Linked DNA regions of Homo sapiens: all the other regions are linked to region 1. The links are contacts of gene promoters, found by promoter capture Hi-C in human tissues and cell types (Jung and others, 2019). All regions are on one chromosome and are shown on one strand. Each heading gives the region's core, a stretch centred on a gene start or on the middle of the fragment in contact. The rest is flanking DNA. Distances are from core to core; before and after follow the strand shown. Region 1 holds the start of SLC22A8 (solute carrier family 22 member 8). Region 2 has its middle 32 kb from the start of PLAAT5. Region 3 has its middle 59 kb from the start of PLAAT5.

Evidence for each region. The method cuts DNA at HindIII sites, captures the fragments that hold promoters and counts their contacts. A contact is called where the count stands out against the background at its distance.
Region 2: a contact is called between a fragment that was not itself captured here and the fragment with the promoter of SLC22A8 in region 1, in 2 of the 25 tissues and cell types used here (liver and mesendoderm cells).
Region 3: a fragment that was not itself captured here is called in contact with the fragment with the promoter of SLC22A8 in region 1 in 1 of the 25 tissues and cell types used here (H1 embryonic stem cells).

What each region holds. Positions count from the first base shown.
Region 1 is chr11:63,014,212-63,017,368 of GRCh38, forward strand. SLC22A8 (solute carrier family 22 member 8) reads right to left here and starts at 1,630. Exons shown (of 11, transcript NM_004254.4): 1 at 1,518-1,630; 2 at 415-772. The coding sequence starts at 747. RefSeq lists an enhancer at 635-1,489. The HindIII fragment of the contact is 24,341 bases long and covers 1-3,157 here.
Region 2 is chr11:63,457,683-63,460,839 of GRCh38, forward strand. No RefSeq gene overlaps it. Among named protein-coding and RNA genes, the nearest start is that of PLAAT5, 32 kb to the right of the region's middle. RefSeq lists an enhancer at 2,830-3,157. The HindIII fragment of the contact is 5,176 bases long and covers 1-3,157 here.
Region 3 is chr11:63,430,868-63,434,024 of GRCh38, forward strand. No RefSeq gene overlaps it. Among named protein-coding and RNA genes, the nearest start is that of PLAAT5, 59 kb to the right of the region's middle. The HindIII fragment of the contact is 4,042 bases long and covers 1-3,157 here.

The DNA of each region.
Region 1 (3,157 bases), core at 380-2,879:
CGCCCTCACTCTCACACCCACCCCAGAGGTCGGTCATAGTGCAAGGTCACTTTGAAGTTGCAATTTTACACTTATTTGTGTGGTGTTTTCCTTAATGGGTGCTATCTCCACCGGGCTGTAGACCCCCTGGGAGCAGGCATGGTGCATTTTTGTATTCCCAGAGCTTAGCTCTGTGCCCGTCACAGAACAGGCCCTCAGTAGCAGTTTGTTGAAGCACTGCTTGGACTCTGAGTGGGAAGAAGCCAAGGGTCTTGGTGCATGAGCTTCTGCACTCAGGTCCTTCCTCTTTGCCTGCCCAGTGACCTGTCCTCAGTTCCTGGGAACACCAGACCCCAGCCTCCTCTGCTGCCCACCAGCGGTGCAGGGTATGGGGGTACGTGGGTAAGTGGAGGGAGAGGGTTTGCCCAGGCATACCTCTGTCACAATGGAGTCCTTGGTGCTGTTGTAGACCCAGCCATCCAGGCATGGCTCCATGGCCCTCTGGGTGTCATTGGGCAGGCTGGCATTGGGCGGATGTACAAAACGGAGGCACCTCTCAGGCTTCCCATTTGGGCCCATGGGGAGCACCCAAGGCCCTGTGGAGGCATTGTGGGGCGGGCGACAGTGGTGGACAGGGGTGGCGGCTGTGAAGATCTGCAGCAGGTTGTGGTTGGCCATGTTGAGGATCGGGAGGCCCAGTATGGCTACATGCAGGAACTGGAAATGGCCCATGCTTCCCACACGGTCCAGGATCTCCGAGAAGGTCATGGCACTGGGGCAAGACGAGCCAGAGCTGTGGGCAGGGCATAGGCCAGGGAGAGGTATATTTGTGCCTGGTAGTGCGTGGGTCTATGGAACGATATGTGGGAGGGTGAACCAGGTGGATATGCGAGCACAGGTGTGTGGAGCAGAGCATGTGTAAGTGTGTAAAGATGTGGAAGCTCAGGCATGTGGAGCCGCAGATTCTTGTGTGGATGTCTGAGGAAGAGCCCAGCTGCACGGAGGGCTGTGGGATCAAAGGTGGAAGTGTGTGTCCAGGTGTGTGGACACAAAGGTATCTATGGGTATGTGCTCATTTAGGCTGCAGCATAAGGACACAGCTGCGTGAGCTCGGGTATGTGTTGTGAGCGTGTGCACCTGCGGACACGAGCATGTGTGTGCTCAGCTAGGCTGGTTGCACATGCTGCATGCATGGAGCAGTGCAGGACACGTAGCAGGGACCAAGGGGCCCAGCCTTGGATGTTGGCTACAAAGGACAGATTAGAGGGTGGGTGGTGAATGTCCCCAGTTGCTCCAGGCAGATACACAGGGTTAGCAGAGTTCAGGTTGTCTGCTGGGAAAGGCCTCCCCAAGCTCAGAGCCTCCTGGCTTCTGGCAGTTCCCTGGGGCTGGGCCCACCATGCTGGAGTATCTGTAAGAGCCCGAAGCAGGTCTCAGAGGGCACTAGGGGCTTGGCTAGTCGCAAGTGGAGCCTGGCCTTGGGAGATCCCTGGGATTCCTAGGTGCCTGGGCTGGGGAGGCCCTCCATCCCTCCTCACCTGGTGGCCGGGTCTGGATCCGATGGGGCTGGTGATCAGTGTAGTTGAGGTCCCTGCTCTGTCCTAGGGGCCGGCAGCTGCTGTAGTAGGGCAGCTCAGCTCTAACAAGCTGTGTTTGTGCCTCCCCCAGGGGGGCTTATATAAGGCATAAGCTGTTTCCCGGGCTAATGTTTGACTTTCTTTTGCGGATTAACGTCACTGGCAGGGAGAGTGCTGTGGACCCACCAAGCCCAGCTCTCCTCAAAGGGCTGCCTCAGCGAGGGCCGCTGGGGGTGGGGCAGCGTGGCTGAGCCTAGCAGGGCTGCTGGCTGGACACCACGGGCCCAAATGGGAAGTCTGAGACGTGCCTCCGTTTTGTACATCCGCCCAACGCGAGCAGCCCTGGCAGGCTCACCGAGGGGAGATTCTGGGAAGGAATCTGGCCTGACCTCTGAGGGTTCAAGGTCCCTCTCAACTGATGTTCAGAGGACTTGATGCTGAGGACAACCAATGGGAAAGGCACTGGTGCCCGTAAGCAGGCAGCATTCTCCTGTGTGCTACCTCCCCTGCCTGGCACCTCCCGAGTAGGGGAAGGGGATTTGCCTCTCAGGAAGTGTTAGGGCACACCCAGACAGAAAATGTCACTTTCATCTATCCCTGAGGACGCAGGGCTGCCATCTCCTGGGCCCCTGGGGCAGCCAGGACCTCCGTGTCTGTGTCTCTGACACAGGTGAACTGCCCCCTTCCATCCCACCCTCAATGGACAGGCTTCTCTCCTGATCAGCCGCTTCCCCCTGGGGACCAAATGTAGTCCCTGCTGTTTTATTTTCACTCTGAATATTATTTTAATTATATAATAATGTGTGTTTCCTGCATAAAACATGGGAAATACAGACAAGCCAAACAAAACAAATCAAAACAAAGCAAAATGTCCAGTCTCACCTGAGAGCCTATCTGTTCTTCTGGTCTTTTCCTCAGCAGAGACTTCAGTCTAAGACCTCAACTTCTAGCCACCAACATTAGGCTCTTTTAACCCTCACGGCAGCCCTGTGACTAGTCTAGCATTAATAATTAGGGAACTGAGGCAAAGGGAGATTAAGTGACCTCCTCACCATCCCCCAGCCAGGAAGCACAGGGCAGGGGCAGGGTGGCCCTAAGCCTATTCCCTCCCTTAGAACCAACATTCTCTACGAAGCCTATGGGGGCACTGTACTATTAATATATTGCCTCTCCCTTAAAGAGCCACCTAGAGGTCTGGGCGGGGTGGCTCAAGCCTGTAATCCCAGCAGTCTGGGAGGCCAAGGTGGGTGGGTCACGAGGTCAGGAGTTCCAGACCAGCCTGGCCAATATGGTGAAACCCCATCTCTACTAAAAATACAAAAATTAGCCAGGCATGTGGCACGCGCCTATAGTCCCAGCTACTTGGGAAGCTGAGGCAGGAGAATCACTGGAACCCAGGAGGCAGAGGTTGCAGTGAGCCAAGATCGTGCCACTGCACTCCAGCCTCGGTGACAGAGCAAGACTACGTCTCAAAAAAAAAAAAAAAAAAGTCACCTAGGCTGGTCTTCAACATCACTCCTGCCTGCCTTTACCTCTCTGTTCCTACCTCCAGAAACCCCTGGGAGCTGCCCCTTCCCACCTGCTCTAGGGGCTAGGGAGGG
Region 2 (3,157 bases), core at 206-2,705, 440 kb after region 1:
CCCCTAGGTAACCTTTCACCTTCTTGATGTTCCTTTACTCTTCATCTCCAAAGCCCAACTACGCACATCACTGAAACAACTGGAGCCTTCTAGCTCTGTATTACAGACAAGCCCTCTATCAATACTGGCAAACTTAAAAACATTAGCAGTAATTATTGCTTAGGAAGACACTTACCCAGTATTTCACTCCATTCTTGGCTACCTTCCCCTTGCTCGTCAGACTCTCCTCCCAGGCCCTCTTCTTGTTTGCTTATACCCAGCCCCGTAAATAACAGTAAAAGTTTGCTCATAGACACTCAACGTTTTCTCCTACACCATGAAAATCAAACCTTCCCCTCTACGCTGTTACCCCATTAGTCCCCATTACAACCTCTGATGGCTGCCGCCCTAGCTCGATCCCTAGGAGTCTAGGTAAAAGACACCCCTTTCAGCCCTCCTTCTCATCTTTTTACTTTGCGTCTCCAGTTTTGCCTCACACAAGGTCTCTTCTTCCTCTGTGGATCCTCTACCTACATGTGTCTACCTGCTAATTGGACAGGCACATGCACACTAGTTTTCCTTACCCCCAAAATTCAATTTGCAAATAGAACCAAAGAGTTCCCTGTTCCCCTCATGACACCAACATGACAAAAAAGAGTTATTCCACTAATTCCCTTGCTTGTCGGTTTAGGACTTTCTGCCTCCCCTATTGCTCTCGGTACTGCAATAACAGGCATTTCAACCTCTGTCATGACCTTCTGTAGCGTCTCTAATGACTTCTCTGCTAGCATCACAGACATATCACAAACTTTATCAGTCCTCCAGGCCTAAGTTGACTCTTTAGCTGCAGTTGTCCTCCAAAACCGCTGAGGCCTTGACTTACTCACTACTGAAAAAGGAAGACTGTATATTCTTAAATGAAGAGTGTTGTTTTTACCTAAATCAATCTGGCCTGGTGTATGACAACATAAAAAAACTCAAGGATAGAGCCCAAAAACTTGCCAACCAAGCAAGTAATTATGCTGAACCCCCTTAGGCACTCTCTAATTAGACGTCCTAGGTCCTCCCAATTCTTAGTCCTTTAATACCTGTTTTTCTCCTTCTCTTATTCCATTTAATTTTTCAATTCATGCAAAACCGTATCCAGGCCATCACCAATAATTCTACACGACAAATGTTTCTTCTAACAACCCCACAATATCACCCCTTACCACAAAATCTTCCTTCAGCTTAATCTCTCACACTCTAGGTTCCCACGCCACCCCTAATCCCGCTCGAAGCAGCCCCGACAGACATCGTCCATTATCTCTCCATACCACCCCCAAAAATTTTCACCGCCCCAACACTTCAACACTATTATGTTTTATTTTCCTTATTAATATAAGAAGAGAGGAATGTCAGGCCTCTGAACCCAAGCTAAGCCATCATATCCCCTATGACCTGCACGTATACATCCAGATAGCCTAAAGTAACTGAAGAATCACAAAAGAAGTGATATTTAAATGGCCTGTTCCTGCCTTAACTGATGACATTCCACCACAAAAGAAGTTAAAATGGCCAGTCCTTACCTTAACTGGTGACACTACCTTGTGAAATTCCTTCTCCTGGCTCATCCTGGCTCAAAAAGCTCCCCCACTGAGCACCTTGTGACCCCCACCCCTGCCCACCAGAGAACAACCCCCCTTTGACTGTAATTTTCCTTTACCTACCCAAATCTTGTAAAACAGCCCCACCCCTATCTCCCTTGGCTGACTCTTTTCGGACTCAGCCCGCCTGCACCCAGGTGAAACAGCCTTGTTGCTCACACAAAGCCTGTTTGGTGGTCTCTTCACAAGGATGCAAATGAAACTCTGTATCATTTTTTATTGTGTTTATTTGATATTCTCTTTTCTTCTTTATTAGTCTAGCTAGCAGTCTATTTCCTTAATTTTTTCAAAAAAAAAAAAAGCCCCTGGATTCAGATTATTTGAAAAGTTTTTTGTGTCTCTGTCTCCTTCAGTTCCACTCTGATGTTACTTTTTTCTTGTCTTCTGCTAGCTCAATCATCCCAGGTCAACATCCCAGGTCAATTCCTGCTGTGCTGGCAGCAGGAATTTCAAGCCAGTGATTCATAGCTTGCTGGGCTCCATGGGAGTGGGACCTGCTGAGCGAGACTACTTGGCTCCCTGGCTTCAGCCTCCTTTCCAGGTAAGTGAACGGTTCTGACTCTCTGGGGTTCCAGGCGCCACCAGGGGATGAAAAAAAAATTTCTGCAGCTGGCTCGGTGTCTGCCCGAACAGCCGCCCAGTTTTGTGCTTGAAACCCAGGGCCCTGGTGGTGTAGGCTCACCATGGAATCTCCTGGTTTGCGGATTGCAAAAGCTATGGGAAAAGCATAGTATCTGGGTGGGATAGCACAGTCCCTCATGGCTTCCCTTGGCTGGGAAAGGGAGGCCTCCTGCTCCTTGCACTTCCCGGGTAAGGTGATGCCCCACCTTGCTTATGCTCGCCCTCCATGGGCTGCACCCACTGTCTAACCAGTCGCAATGAGATAAACAGGATATCTCAGTTGGAAATGCAGAAATCACCCGCCTTCTGCATAGGTCTCACTGGGAGCTGCAGACTGGAGCTGTTCCTATTCGACCATCTTGCCAGAACCCCCAACAAGAATATTTTTAAAACAAAGTAAATACCACCATACTCCTGGAAAAAAAAAATACACTTTTGCTGTCTGCCAAGAAGCAGCAGCATGGGGTTCACAAATAGTTGGATTCCTAGTAAAGATTCTGCCCAGCTGAAAATTGGCTTTGAAAATAATGCGACCAGAAACTTTGGGAGAACAGAACTTTAAGTGGCTCAGATAGCCTTCTTAGAGTTTGGATTACCATTGGTTGTTCTCCTAAAGTGATAAGAAGTTTCTAGAGGAACAGTGTGGAGATCAAAATGGCCTATGATCACCAGAATGCTATATATCCAGCCCCTATGCCCTTTGTGCTGTACTTGCCTATGTGGGTTATAAGGACCCAAGTCCTACAGAGTCAGGAATCACCCTTCCCTTTAAAATCTTCCTTCTTTGACAAAGCCCCGCTCCTACATGACTGCAGGAAATCCAGTTCTTTCCCAAAATATTCCAGAGGATACCAAAGGTAGCTTACATTTTCAACCAACATGGTGCCTCTCTGGTCTGCTTGTTTCCTATG
Region 3 (3,157 bases), core at 488-2,987, 420 kb after region 1:
CTGGGGGGAGGGGTGACTGCCATTGCTGAGGCTTGAGTAGGTAAACAAAGCGGCCAAGAATCTCAAACTGGGTGGAGCCCACCACAGCTCAAGAAGACCTGACTGCCTCTGTAGACTCCACCTCTGGGGGCAGGGCATAGCTGAACAAAAGGAAGCAGAAACCTCTGCATATTTAAATGTCCCTGTCTGACAGCTTTGAAGACAGTACTGATTTTCCCAGCATGGAGTTTGAGATCTGAGAATGGACAGACTGCCTCCTCAAGTGGGTCCCTGACCCCCAAGTAGCCTAATTGGGAGGCACTCCCTGGCAAACAGGGTCTGGAGTGGACCTCCAGCAAACTCCAACAGACCTGCAGCTGAGGGTTCTGACTGTTAGAAGGAAAACAAACAGAAAGGACATCCACACCAAAACCCCATCTGTATGTCACCATCATCAAAGACCAAAAGTAGATAAAGCCACAAAGATGGGGAAAAGACAGAGCAGAAAAACTGGAAACTCTAAAAATCAGAGCACCTCTCCCCCTCCAAAGGAAGGCAGCTCCTTGCCAGCAACAGAACAAAGCTGGATGGAGAGTGACTTTGACAAGTTGAGAGAAGAAAGCTTCAGATGATCAACCTTCTCCGAGCTAAAGGGGGAAGTTTGATCCCATTGCAAACAAGATAAAAACCTTGAAAAAAGATTAGGTGAATGGCTGACTGAATAACCAGCATAGAGAAGTCCCTAAACGACCTGACGGAGCTGAAAACCATGGCTCAAGAACTATGTGATGAATGTGCAAGCTTCAGTAACTGATTCGATCAACTGGAAGAAAGGGTATCAGTGATTGAAGATCAAACGAATGAAATGAAGTGAGAAAAGGAGTTTAGAGAAAAAAGAGTAAAAAGAAATGAACAAAGCCTCCAAGAAATATGGGACTATGTGAAAAGACCAAATCTACATCTGATTGGTGTACCTGAAAGTGACAAGGAGAATGGAACCAAGTTGGAAAACACTCTGCAGGATATTATCCAGGGGAACTTGCCCAACCTAGCAAGGCAGGCCAACATTCAAATTCAGGAAATACAGAGAACACCACAAAGATACTCCTTGAGAACAGCAACTCCAAGACACATAATTTTCAGATTCAACAAAGTTAAAATGAAGGAAAAAATGTTAAGGGCAGCCAGAGAGAAAGGTTGGGTTACCATCAAAGGGAAGCCCATCAGAGTAACAGTGGATCTCTCAACAGAAACTCTACAAGCCAGAAGAGAGTGGGGGCAAATATTCAACATTCTTAAAGAAAAGAATTTTCAACCCAGAATTGCATATCCAGCCAAACTAAGCTTCATAAGTGAAGGAGAAATAAAATACTTTACAGACAAGCAAATGCTGAGAGATTTTGTCACTACCAGGCCTGCCCTAAAAGAGCTCCTGATGGAAGCACTAAACATGGAAAGGAACAATCGGTACCAGCCACTGCAAAAACATGCCAAAATGTAAAGACCATCAATGCCAGGAAGAAGCTGCATCAACTAACAAGCAAAATAACCAGCTAACATCATAATGACAGGATCAAATTCACACACAACAATATTAACTTTAAATGTAAGTGGGCTAAATGCTCCAATTAAAAGACACAGAGTGGCAAATTGGATAAAAATTCAAGACCCATCAGTGTGCTGTACTCAGGAGACCCATCTCACATGCAGAGACACACACAGGCTCAAAATAAAGGAATGGAGGAAGATCTACCAAGCAAATGGAAAACAAAAAAAGGCAGGGGTTGCAATCCTAGTCTCTGATAAAACAGACTTTAAACCAACAAAGATCAAAGAGACAAAGAAGGCCATTACATAATGGTAAAGGGATCAATTCAACAAGAAGAGCTAACTATCCTAAATATATATGCACCCAATACAGGAGCACCCAGATTCATAAAGCAAGTCCTTAGAGACTTACAAAGAGACTTAGAGTCCCACACAATACTAATGGGAGACTTCAACACCCCACTATCAACATTAGACAGATCAATGAGACAGATAGTTAACAAGGATATTCAGGAATTGAACTCAGCTCTGCACCAAGCAGACCTAATAGACATCTACAGAACCCTCCACCCCAAATCAACAGAAAATACATTCTTCTCAGCACCACATCACACTTATTCCAAAACTGACCGCATAGTTGGAACTAAAACACTCCTCAGCAAATGTAAAAGAGCAGAAATTATAACAAACTCTTTCTCAGACCACAGTGCAATCAAACTAGAACTCAGGATTAATAAATTCACGCAAAACCACTCAACTACATGGAAACTGAACAACCTGCTCCTGAATGACTACTGGGTACATAACGAAATGAAGGCAGAAATAAAGATGTTCTTTGAAACCAACGAGAACAAAGACACAACATACCAGAATCTCTGGGACACATTTAAAGCAGTGTGTAGAGGGAAATTTATAACATTAAATGTGCACAAGAAAAAGAAGGAAAGATCTAAAATTGACACCCTAACATCACAATTAAAAGAACTAGAGAAGCAAGAGCAAACACATTCAAAAGCTAGCAGAAGGCAAGAAATAACTAAGATCAGAGCAGAACTGAAGGAGATAGAGACACAAAAAACCCTTCAAAGAATCAATGAATCCAGGAGCTGGTTTTTTGAAAAGATCAACAAAATTGATAGACTACGAGCAAAACTAATAAAGAAGAAAAGAGAGAAGACTCAAATAGATGCAGTAAAAAATTATAAAGGAGATATCACCACCGATCCCACAGAAATACAAACTATCATCAGAGAATACTATAAACACCTCTACACAGATAAACTAGAAAATCTAGAAGAAATGGATAAATTCCTTGACACATACACCCTCCCAAGACTAAACCAGGAAGAATTTGAATCCCTGAATAGATCAATAACAGCCTCTGAAATTGAGGCAATAATTAATAGCCTACCAACCAAAAAAAGTCCAGGACCAGATGGATTCACAGCTGAATTCTACCAGAGGTACAAGGAGGAGCTTGTACCACTCCTTCTGAAACTATTCCAATCAAAAGAAAAAGAGGGAGTCCTCCCTAATTCATTTTATGAGGCCAACATCATCCTGATACCAAAGCCTGGCAGAGACACACACACAAAAAAATTTCAGGCCAATATTCTTGATGAACATCCAT